2 separate regions of the Homo sapiens genome follow, and region 1 is linked to region 2. The links are contacts of gene promoters, found by promoter capture Hi-C in human tissues and cell types (Jung and others, 2019). All regions are on one chromosome and are shown on one strand. The core of a region is centred on a gene start or on the middle of the fragment in contact, and the rest is flanking DNA. Distances in the headings are between cores, read along the strand shown.

Region 1 (4,953 bases), core at 1,427-3,926, 570 kb before region 2:
ATGTCCAACAATCCAGTAGGGCTTTCATTTTATTTTCTTGACTCAAATGTGAGCCTGGTGGGTAGACGCATCTGAGCATTGACTTGTTAAGAAAAACTAACCTGGCCGGGCGCGGTGGCTGATGCCTGTAATCCCAGCACTTTGGGAGGCCGAGGCAGGCAGATCATGAGGTCAGGATATCGAGACCATCCTGGCTAACACAGTGAAACTCCGACTCTACTAAAAATATTAAAAAAAAAAAAAATAGCCAGGCATGGTGGTGGGTGCCTGTAGTCCCAGCTACTTGGGAGGTTGAGGCAGGAGAATGGCGTGAACCCAGGAGGCAGACTTGCAGTGAGCCGAGATCGCGCCACTGCACTCCAGCCTGGGAGACAGAGCGAGACTCCATCTCAAAAAAAAAAAAAAAAAAAAGAAAGAAAGAAAAAAGAGAAACTAACCCACACGGTAAAATAGACTTCTGCAGCTCACCAGCCAGCTAATACCAAACCTGATAACAACACACTGGTGTGGCCACAACTTTACTCCCGTTTTAAATGGCAATCCCTCCTCACCTGAATATTGGTGAAACCTTGGCTAGGAACAGCTTGGAGGCGTCAGTCCTAGTCCAGGCCCCTTTGTCATTATCCTGTGGTTTGTTCACTGACAGGTTTCTGTGTCCTAAGATAGCCACCCATTGGACTTGTCACCGTGTCTACGCTAACATATTAATGACCTAAGCTTTTGGTCTCGGTCTCTGCAATTGCTTGTATTTGTATCTCTAAAGTACAGTTCTCATCTCTCTTTTGTTGCTTTCATGATTTCTCTATTTGTTACTGCAATGTTGCAGTGCAGCCTGTTCACCCACCTGCAATGCACTGCACCACGGAACGCCCTCCTCTCTGGGCCAGCATGGTGGGAGGCGTGGGAAGGAAAGATCCCAGACTCAAGGGAGCAGGGAGCAGGTACTTAAGGGCAGGGAGAAGGGATGCAGTCAGAGATGAATGCTCTTAGTAATGTTTTCTTTAAACTAGATGATAGGGACATGGGTGTTTTGCATTATTTATGCCTTTTTGTATATTATATTTAATAATCACTTTTTTTTTTTGAGACGGAGTTTCGCTCTTGTTTGCCCAGGCTGGAGTGCAATGGCGCGATCTTGGCTCACCACAACCTCTGCCTCCCAGGTTCAAGTGATTCTCCTGCCTCAGCCTCCCGAGTAGCTGAGATTATAGGCATGCACCACTACGCCCGGCTAATTTTGTATTTTTGGTAGAGACGGGGTTTCTCCATGTTGGTCAGGCTGGTCTCAAACTCCCGACTTCAGGTGATCCGCCCGCCTCGGCCTCCCAAAGTGCTGGGATTACAGGCGTGAGCCACCGAGCCCAGCCCACTTTTTTAATAAAAAGAAAAGTCAGTATACATGAATATTAAAAACATAGTGCTGGGCAAAATTCACACCATCCTGTAGTGCAGAGCCCCCCTCTCCTTCCAGGGTAGCCATGAGATGAATAGTGACACCTTAGACTGGGCCCTTCACTGCTGCTGGACTCTTTTTGCAAATGGGGTCAGAGTCCTGGGAAATGCAGCCTTGGTGCAGAGAATAACGCTTGGGCATTTTGTGTGTATTCTCAGGTTGCAGATACCACAGACTCTGTCAAGAAGTGTGTTGGGGGCCAGGCGTGGTGACTCATGCCTGTAATCCCAGCACTTTGGGAGGCTGAGGTGGGAGAATTGCTTGATCCCAGAGGTCAAGTCTGTATAAGCCATGATCATGCCGGTACTCCAGCCTTGGAGACAGAGTGAGACCCTCTCTCAGAAGAAAAAAAAAAAGAAGTATGTTGAGGCTTCTCATTGCTCTGAAAAGGGAGTTCATGATAAACATGTTTGGGCTGGGGAAAAAAAAAAACAAGCACATAAACAAAATAAAAAACCCAACCCTTGTCCCTTGGTCTTTGAGTGACCAGTGATATTCCATCGCCGTGGAAGAAGAGAAGATGAATACTGGGGGAACACCCACAGTGCCTGTGACGCTTCCTACCAGCCTGCTCTACCTCCCTGGCCGGCTCTTTCTCCCTTCCTCCTACCAGCTTTTCTAAACCTTCTGTCAGCTCAGCATCCCTCCCATCCCTCTGCCATCACTAACCCCTCTCTTCCTATTGCACAGAACAAAGAGAATCCATCAGATGAGAGTTCCTTCAACTTCCTGATCTCTCCCTCCCAGCCCTCACCAGACACCCTGCTTGAATGCTCACCCCTTTCTCTCGAAGGCCAGTCCCTGCTCCTGGGCTCTCAATCCCACCCCTCCTATTGGCCTAGAACCGCAAAACCAGGTCTCTCCCACTGTCTCCAGACTCTCTGCCCACAGTGTGTCAGCATTTAAATATGCTCGTCTTTTCCATGAAAGGTGTTCCCTGGGGCCAGGCGCGGTGGCTCACACCTGTAATCCCTGCACTTTGGGAGGCCGAGGTGGGCGGATCTCTTGAGGTCAGGAGTTCGAGACCAGCCTGGCCAATGTGGTGAAACCCCATCTCTACTAACAATACAAAAATTAGGTGTGGTGGCACACGCCCGTAGTCCCAGTTACTAGGGAGTCTGAGGCGGGAGAATCGCTTGAACCCGCGAGGTGGAGGTTGCAGTGAGCTGAGATCATACCACTGCACTCCAGCTTTGGCGGCAGAGCAAGACTCTGAAGAAAGAGGGAGGGAGGGAAGGAAGGAAGGAGGGAAGGAAGGAAGGAGGGAAGGAAGGAAGGAAGGAAGGAAGGAAGGAAGGAAGGAAGGAAGGAAGGAAGGGCGGGCTCCCTGGACTCCATCTCCCCCTCCTGCCACCTGTCTCTCCGCTCTCCTTCGGCGTAAGCCAGGAAGCGCTCCCTTCTCTATGTCCACCACTTTTTCAGTTTCTTTAAAATAAGAAATGTGGTGGAAATGTCAAGACACCAAGAAACCTATACACCAGTCCTAAGGGTTCATTCTACTTTCCTTTTTCTCTCTACAACATCATACAGCCCTGGTTATTTCTACAGTGGCTTTAGTCCTCTCCTTTGGTGTACTTTACAAAAATATATCCAGGGAGAACTGGATTCTCCATCCTCTTGGGGAACCGACAGAGTATCCACAACCAGTCTATTTCAAAGGGAGGGGGTTGGGCTTGATGAGGTGGCTCACTCCTGTAATCCCAGCACTTTGGGAGGCTGAGGCGGGAAGATCCATTGAGCCCAGGAGTTCAAGACCAGCCTGGGGAACATGGCGAAATCCCATCTCTACAAAAAAATACACAAATTAGCCAGGTGTGATGGCGTGCACTTGTAGTCCCAGCTACTCAGGAGGCTGAGGAGGGAGGATCACCTAAGCCTGGGAGTTCGAGGTTGCAGGGAGTTAAGCCATGATCGTGCCACTGCGCTCCAGCCTGTCTGAGACACTGTCTCAACAAACAAGCAAACAAATGAAACAAAAGGAAGGAACCTGAACCTCTTTACATCTTCTTTTGGGAGCAGCGATAATCAGCAATGACGTGTTCCAATCATAATTCCATTTCCTCATTTAAGGCAGAACCCTCTCTGTTCAGTAATTGGCACAATTTGAGGACAAGAGTTATCCTAGGAACTTTCAGAAAAAGAACCCATATTAATTTTGTAACAAAGATGTAAAATGTGTCTTTGTGAGAAAGGGGCATACAGATTTTGGTGGGACTTTGAATCATACGCAGTCATAATTTGTTTTATCCTTTTTTCCAGAAAAATATGCAAAACAAAATAGCTGTGTGATGGTACTACAGGGTCTTTGGGCTTTTGGAGGAGAATATAACCAAAGGGCTCCCAGGACAGCGTCATGTTCAAGTGTCTAGAAAGTTTCATATGCACTCTGTGCTTTACTTTCTCATCACCTATTTTAGTCCATTCAGGTTGCTTTAGACTCCCATAGGCTTATAAACAACAGAAATGCACTTTCTCACATTCTGGAGTCTGGAATGAGATTGTGGTGCCAGCATGGTTGAGTTCTGGCAAGGGATGTCTTCTGGGTTGCAGATGGCCGAATTTTCTTTGTATCCTCATGTGATGGGGAGAGAGAGACAGAGTGAACTCTCTGGGGTCCTTTCATGGGGTAGTAATCTCACTGCTGGGGGCTCTTAGCTCATGACCTAATCACCTTCTAAAGGCTCACCTCCTAATACCATCACCTTGGGGGTTAGGATTTCAACAGATGAATCTGGGGAGGGGATACACATATTCAATCCACGGCACCTGTTCACTCTTCCCCCATCTGCAGTCCGACATCTGCCATCTTCCTTGTCACTAGACCCAGTGGACTCCCCATCATACTTGGCTTCCCAGCACCACCTGGCGTTTGGGGCCTCTTCTTCCTTGAAATCTCCCTTTACCCCACGTCTGTGACCCACACTTCCCAGGCAGCTCACACCCAGGCCTTAGCGGGGGTAGGCCCTCTTCCCTTCTCCCTCCACCCCAGTGTGGGACTTCATTCACTCCGTCATCTTTTTGGACAGTTCAATTAGGGGCTCCCAAGCCACTGGAAATCCAGGTGAGCCATGGATCTTGGAATTCCAAGGCCTCCCTGGGGTTTTGCTGTGATTCCCAGGGACTCTGGCCTCGTCTCCTCTTGGGATCTGACTTCCTGTGTGCTGCCTCTCTGTCTACTCCAGGTTCTGAAGGAAAACTCAACTTTGTCTTTGGTTCCCCCACAACATTTAATCACACCCCACTGTGGGGTCATTAGACTTTGCCAGAGGTCTTGGGGGCTGTCTAGGCAGGGGTCTTACCAGGACTGGCACAGCCTCTGCCATCTTGCTTCTTGCCTCCACCTCAGCTCCTCTCCCACTTTACCTTTCATTTTACTGCTGCAACTCCAAAGTCCTCCCTATTGTCTGAAGCATCTTCCCTCCTCTGAATCTTGAGATCGGCTGACACCCCGGCCCTCCAGAAGTGGGCGTTTCACCTTCCAAAGCAAGCTCTTAGCACGA
Region 2 (5,537 bases), core at 1,386-3,885:
GGCATGGTTGCATGTTCTTGTTGTCCAAGCTACTGAGGAGGCTAAGGTGGGAGGATCACTTGAGCCCGGGAGGTCGAGGCTTCAGGGAGCCATGATCATACCATTGCACTCCAGCCTGGGCAACAGAGTGAGACCCTGTCTCGGAAAAAACAAAAAAACAGTAATGGAATATGGGCCAGGTATGTTGATTTGAACTGGAGTTTTACTGCTTCCCAGCAGTGTGACATTGAGCAAGTGTGGTAACCTCTACGAGCCAAATGGAGCTGGCATCAGCTGCCTCACCAAACAGGATTTACGGGAAAGGCTGGCGTGGAGCTGGGGCCCTGGGAGGCAGGTAGTTAGAATCCGTTTAAAGATTTTGCCTCAATTGCCTCCAGCTGCTGCTGTGCTTACAAGGCACACAAGTGCTCCCCCTCTGATCCCTCAGCAGGCAAAGACCAGACTCTGGAACACACCTACAGTGCTGCCTCTGGCCAGGCCTCTGAGATATGAGTCCAACATGCAGAGAAAGGGGCAAGTCCTTGGTGGGGGGAGGGGGACAGCAATTTCATTACCGCCATTTCAGAGGTGGCAGTATGGGTGGCTGACATACGTAAGTCTGATTGTTTGGACCAGAAGGATCTTCAGGGGTCCAGTCTTCCAGTTTACAGGTGTGGACATTGAGATCCAGGCACCTGATAATACCAGGTTGGCAGGAAAGTCAAATGCCAGAGGCTTCCATGGTCTCTACTTGTGTTTGGAGCAACAGAATTCTGAACAGAGTCAAAGGGATAAGGGGTCTTTCTGGCACAAGCTGGCCCAAGACCAGGCCTTTGACAGAGGCCTCAGACTCTGGGGGGCCCAAAAGCAGCCCTCCCTTGGGCTCAGCCTTCTGGATCCCATGGCCAGAGTAGTAGTTCTGCCGGCTAGGACTTGGTGAGGGGAGCTTTGAAGTCACTAGTTGAAGGTCACCTTCCTGGTCCAGCTCCACCTGGCAATGTTGACTGTGAGGTAGTGGAGGGGAGGGCTGAGAACACAGAAGAGAAAGGTTGCTCCTATTTGGAGTGAATTAGCGTGACTGGGAAAGCAGAGAAGGGAAAGAGGTCAGGTTTTTCCAAATAAAACCCAGCCCTCAGCTGGTGTCTTAGTTTAAGAAAACAGATGAAGAGAGAAACTTTGTTTGTGGCAGAATCAATTACAACTGTCTTTTGTGGCCAGGTGCAGTGGCTCACACCTGTAATCCCAGTGCTTTGCGAGGCCGAGGCGGGAGGATCATTTAAGCTTAGGAGCTGGAGACCAGCCTGGGCAACATAGTGAGATCCCCCCATCTCTATTTTTAATTAAAACAAACAAACAAACCCATCTTTTATATGCAAACAGGCAAAAATGGAACTGTTTCTACTGTGGCTGTTTGACTACTCTAGGGTCTCAGAAAACAACACCCCAAAATGCAGGCCTCAGGAGCAGCTCTCTCTGACCCTCTCCCTCCCTCCTGTCTTTGGCCCCTCACTCTCCTCCGAGGCCAGCCATAGAAACTGGAATCCTTCTTCCTCAAGGCAGGTCATAGAAACCAGAGCCCTTCTCCCCCAAAGCCAGACATCGAACCCAAAAATATTACTCTTTCTCCCACACATTTCTGGGTAAAAACTGGCCATAAATTATCTGACCTACCTTGTTTGCTTGCAGGTCCTAAGACCCCTCCATCCCAGAGAGAGTCCTGCCCCGTACTCAGAAGGAAGGAATGCTGCAGAGAAAGGTCAAGAAGAATCTACACGGACAGGACTTGCTGGGTTTCCCCACTCAGGTTATTGGCCTTCTGGTCCAATCATATTTCTTTTTTCGTGGTTTTTTTTTTTTTTTTTTGAGACGGAGTCTCACTCTGTTGCCCAGGCTGGAGTGCAGTGGCATGATCTCAGCTCACTGCAATCTCTGCCTCTCAGGTTCAAGTGATTCTCCCGCCTCAGCCTCCTGAGTAGCTGGGATTACAGGCGCGCGCCACCATGCCCGATCAATTTTTGTATTTTTAGTAGAGACAGGGGTTTCATTATGTTAGCCAGCCTGGTCTCGAACTCCTGACTTCAAGTGATCCGCCTGCCTCGACCTCCCAAAAGTTCTAGGATTACAGACGTGAGCCACCGCGCCCGGCCCAAAGTGAGATTTCAACTCTCTCTACACCAGCTGGACCTGACAGCGGACTCGCGGAGGCGCAGACGCCGCCGGCGGTCTTAGCTCAAGAATGAAGCAGCCGCACTGGGCTAATGCGCCTTTGGGTTCAGCCCGGCAGGCGAGGGAAGCAAGAGTTCGCTCAGATTGGCTTTTGGGTTTAAGCTAAAGCGTCAGAAACTGACATCCAGGTTTACATGGGGCATCCTGGAGAGGGTCAGCCTCGCAAGCGGCTCTGCTAATCCCCCAGCCCTGATCCCGCTCGCGGGTCCCGGTGGGTCTCACGCCTGTAGCTCCTGCGGAGCTGGGCTTTCAGCGGCGCCCAGAGAAGCACCAGCCGGGCCTGGCCGCCGGGTCCCGGCTCCCGCGGGACGCTGGAGGCGTCGGCGGCCCTGGCCCCGCCTCCTCCCCGGCAAGGCCCAATGGGGCGGCAGGCCCGGCAGCCCCGCCCCGGTGGTGCCCGCGCGGCCAGCGCCCGCCAGGCCCAGCGTTAGCCCGCGGCCAGGCAGCCGGGAGGAGCGGCGCGCGCTCGGACCTCTCCCGCCCTGCTCGTTCGCTCTCCAGCTTGGGATGGCCGGCTACCTGCGGGTCGTGCGCTCGCTCTGCAGAGCCTCAGGCTCGCGGCCGGCCTGGGCGCCGGCGGCCCTGACAGCCCCCACCTCGCAAGAGCAGCCGCGGCGCCACTGTGAGTGCCGCGCGGAGGGTCCAGGCAGGCGCGCGCCCCCAGCTGCGACGTGGCGGCTTCCCAGGCTGGGGCCGGGAAGCACGTCCCGCCAGCCCGCAGCCCGGGGACGGCGGGGTCAGGCGCACAAAGGGCCGCGGGGCAGCTTCGCTCCGCGCTCCCCCGCCCGGCGCTTCCCGGCCGTGCCAGGCGCTGGGGTGGGGACTTGAGGGACGGTGGCAACTGGTGGCCCGGGCGACGGCCAGCTCTGCGCGGGCGGGGGCTCGGGGCTGCCGCGCGCCCCTAGGTATTTCGGGAGGGGGTCCTGAGAGTGTCCCGGACCCGAAGGGTGGCCTGCCCGCCCTGCGCCCCTGGAACGAGACGAGCACCCGTGGGGGGCTGGAGCACCCCGCGCGCTCCCCTGGCGAGAGGGAGGGTCGTGGCTCGGCCCCTGCTCAGACAAAGGCTGGGAGGCGGGAGACATGCACTTCCCCTTCCTTTTCAGCCAGGCGCGCGCTGATACCAGGCCCACGTCAGCTATTTTTGGAGCCTTTTACACGACAGCTGGAGGAGCGTCCTTTTTAATTTTCCCCTTTTGTTTGGCCGCCCCCACCCCCACCCCTTCGCCTTCATCGCTGCACTTGAGGCTCCATCCTGGGGCCTCTCCTTGACTTGACCTGCCTTGGCAGGCACATGCCCTCCCTGCCTGGCTCACTCGCCGCAGAGACCTGGCAGCCCGCGCAAAATGTCACTTTGCGGAATCGTTCCCACGGCTTCTGGGTACCCTTAGTTCCCTGCTTAGGAGGGAAGACAGTAGTCGGGTCGTAATAAGCAAGACTTAGCCCGAGCCTCCGTTGCCAACGCAGGCTGCCTTGCTTGGCGTGTGGGCATCGGCCTGCCCCCTCACCCTGGCTACCCAACACAGCTACAAAAGGCAGGGAACAATGTAGGTCCCTTGGCCCTGCCTAATGCCTGTTGCCATGGAAACCCCTATCCTAATCTGGCCAGGAGCCCCTTGCAGTGAGCCAGGAGAGTGAGGAAGAGGGGATGGGGCCCGCTGGCCCTGACCTGGCCAGAGGAGGTAATGGTTAACCGGATTGTGGGAGCAGCTGACTAGAGCCGGGGGGGTAGGGAGGCTTGGGCCCCAGTCCTACCTTCCCTGCCAAGGAGAAAGGGGCATGTCTGCTTTTGTACCTCTGGGAATCTACCTCAGGGATCTGCCCAACAACTCCCAGGTTCCAAGTGCCCCAGGACCCAAAGATTCCCATATAGCACACCACCTTCAGCAAAAATATGGTGGAAGTTAGCCACATTCTTTAATTCTCCCTTTTTTTCTGCCTTGATGGTAAAAAAAAAAAAAAGAAACAAACAACCCGAAAAACACACACAAACAGGAACACAAAGCGCCTTTTAAGGGTCCTGAATTTGGATACAGAAAAAGCAGTCAGTTGCAGGCCCTTCTAGAAGTCCCCATGTGGGTTGGTTATGAATGGGGAAATTGCTTGGTGTTGGAGTTGGACATCAGACTCTACAGTTGCGACTCTGCCAGCTTGTTACCTGGCAACGCAGCTGGAGACAGAATACTTGGCATTCCCCTTGATGACAAGGAAAGAATATTTTGGGGCTAAAAGAGCCCCGTGTCTTTGCTGCCTGGTAATTCCTGCACGCATCTTTTCCTATTTTGCAACGCCATAGGCTTCCAGCGACTGCTGGTGATGTTTCTGGTAAGTTAGAGCTTGGGGCAGTGCGGACCAGTTCTGTGAACGGCTCAGTGGCAGAATTACTTATCTAGCCTTCCTTCACTCCTAACCCAGAAACTTCTTAATTCTTGCCCCTTAAGTGTGCAGATCTTTCTGCCACGTCAGATAAGGCCCTAGCTGCCCTGCCAGAGCTGATTGGGGTGGTTGTGTTTAGGCCTAGTAGGTACTGAGGAAAAGCCTCTTTGGAATGGCTGAGGCCTGCTCCCACATCTTCTGTGTGAAGTTGAGGGCCCTTGGGCTGGTTCCATTCAGGGTATGAGGTGCTGGAAACTGCTCTCAGATTACTGGAAGCCAGGGTCTGTGGCCTTCCCTGGGGTTTATACTCTGTAAACCCATGTTAAAAATACCAGCAGATTGCAAATATTAGTACACTGTAGGTTGTAAGCTTCTTCAGGGCATGGGGCCTATTGCTGGAGAGAGATGCCACCCGTGTACATCTGGTGCAGGCTGCTGGTAAGAACTCACTGGCCCCTGTGTGGCAATGCATACCAGATGGGTGAGAGGGGAGGAAACACATTCAGTGAAACAGAAGGTGAGGGCAGGGCAGCCCTGACCACAGATGGAGTTGACTTCAACTTGACCTTTATTTATGTCTTTGACAAAAGTAGTATACTCCTACTTTGTGCCAGACACCATGCCGGGTGCTGGGGATAGAGCTGGGAATAAAACCAGCAGAGACTCTTTCAAAACCCTTAGGAGCTCAAATTCTGATGTGGGAGGGGGCAGACAGTAAGCAAGATAGATGTTGACTAGTATGATATATGGGTACAAGAGCTAAGGAAGGCCAGGCACTGTGGCTTACACCTGTAATCCCAGAATTTTGGGGGGCTGAGGTGGGAGGATTGCTTGAGGCTGGGAGCTCCAGACCAGCCTGGGCAATATAGTGAGACCCCATCTCTACAAAAATAAAAAATAAAATTAGCCAGGCACGATGGTGCATGTCTGTGGTCTTAGCTACTCAGGAGGATCATTTG

The links. Contacts are between HindIII fragments. The study calls those that stand out against the background at their distance.
Region 1: a fragment that was not itself captured here is called in contact with the fragment with the promoter of IDH2 in region 2 in 1 of the 25 tissues and cell types used here (spleen).

What each region holds. Positions count from the first base shown.
Region 1 is chr15:90,671,360-90,676,312 of GRCh38, reverse strand. All of the region lies in intron 2 of CRTC3-AS1 (CRTC3 antisense RNA 1), which reads left to right. Among named protein-coding and RNA genes, the nearest start is that of LINC01585, 14 kb to the right of the region's middle. The HindIII fragment of the contact is 6,170 bases long and covers 1-4,953 here.
Region 2 is chr15:90,099,566-90,105,102 of GRCh38, reverse strand. IDH2 (isocitrate dehydrogenase (NADP(+)) 2) reads left to right here and starts at 2,635. Exons shown (of 11, transcript NM_002168.4): 1 at 2,635-2,827. The coding sequence starts at 2,713. IDH2-DT (IDH2 divergent transcript) reads right to left here and starts at 2,971. Exons shown (of 3, transcript NR_149130.1): 1 at 2,725-2,971; 2 at 1,651-1,723. RefSeq lists silencers at 2,425-2,884, 3,205-3,274, 3,765-3,854, 3,915-3,964 and enhancers at 2,499-3,353, 3,354-4,209. The HindIII fragment of the contact is 13,716 bases long and covers 1-5,537 here.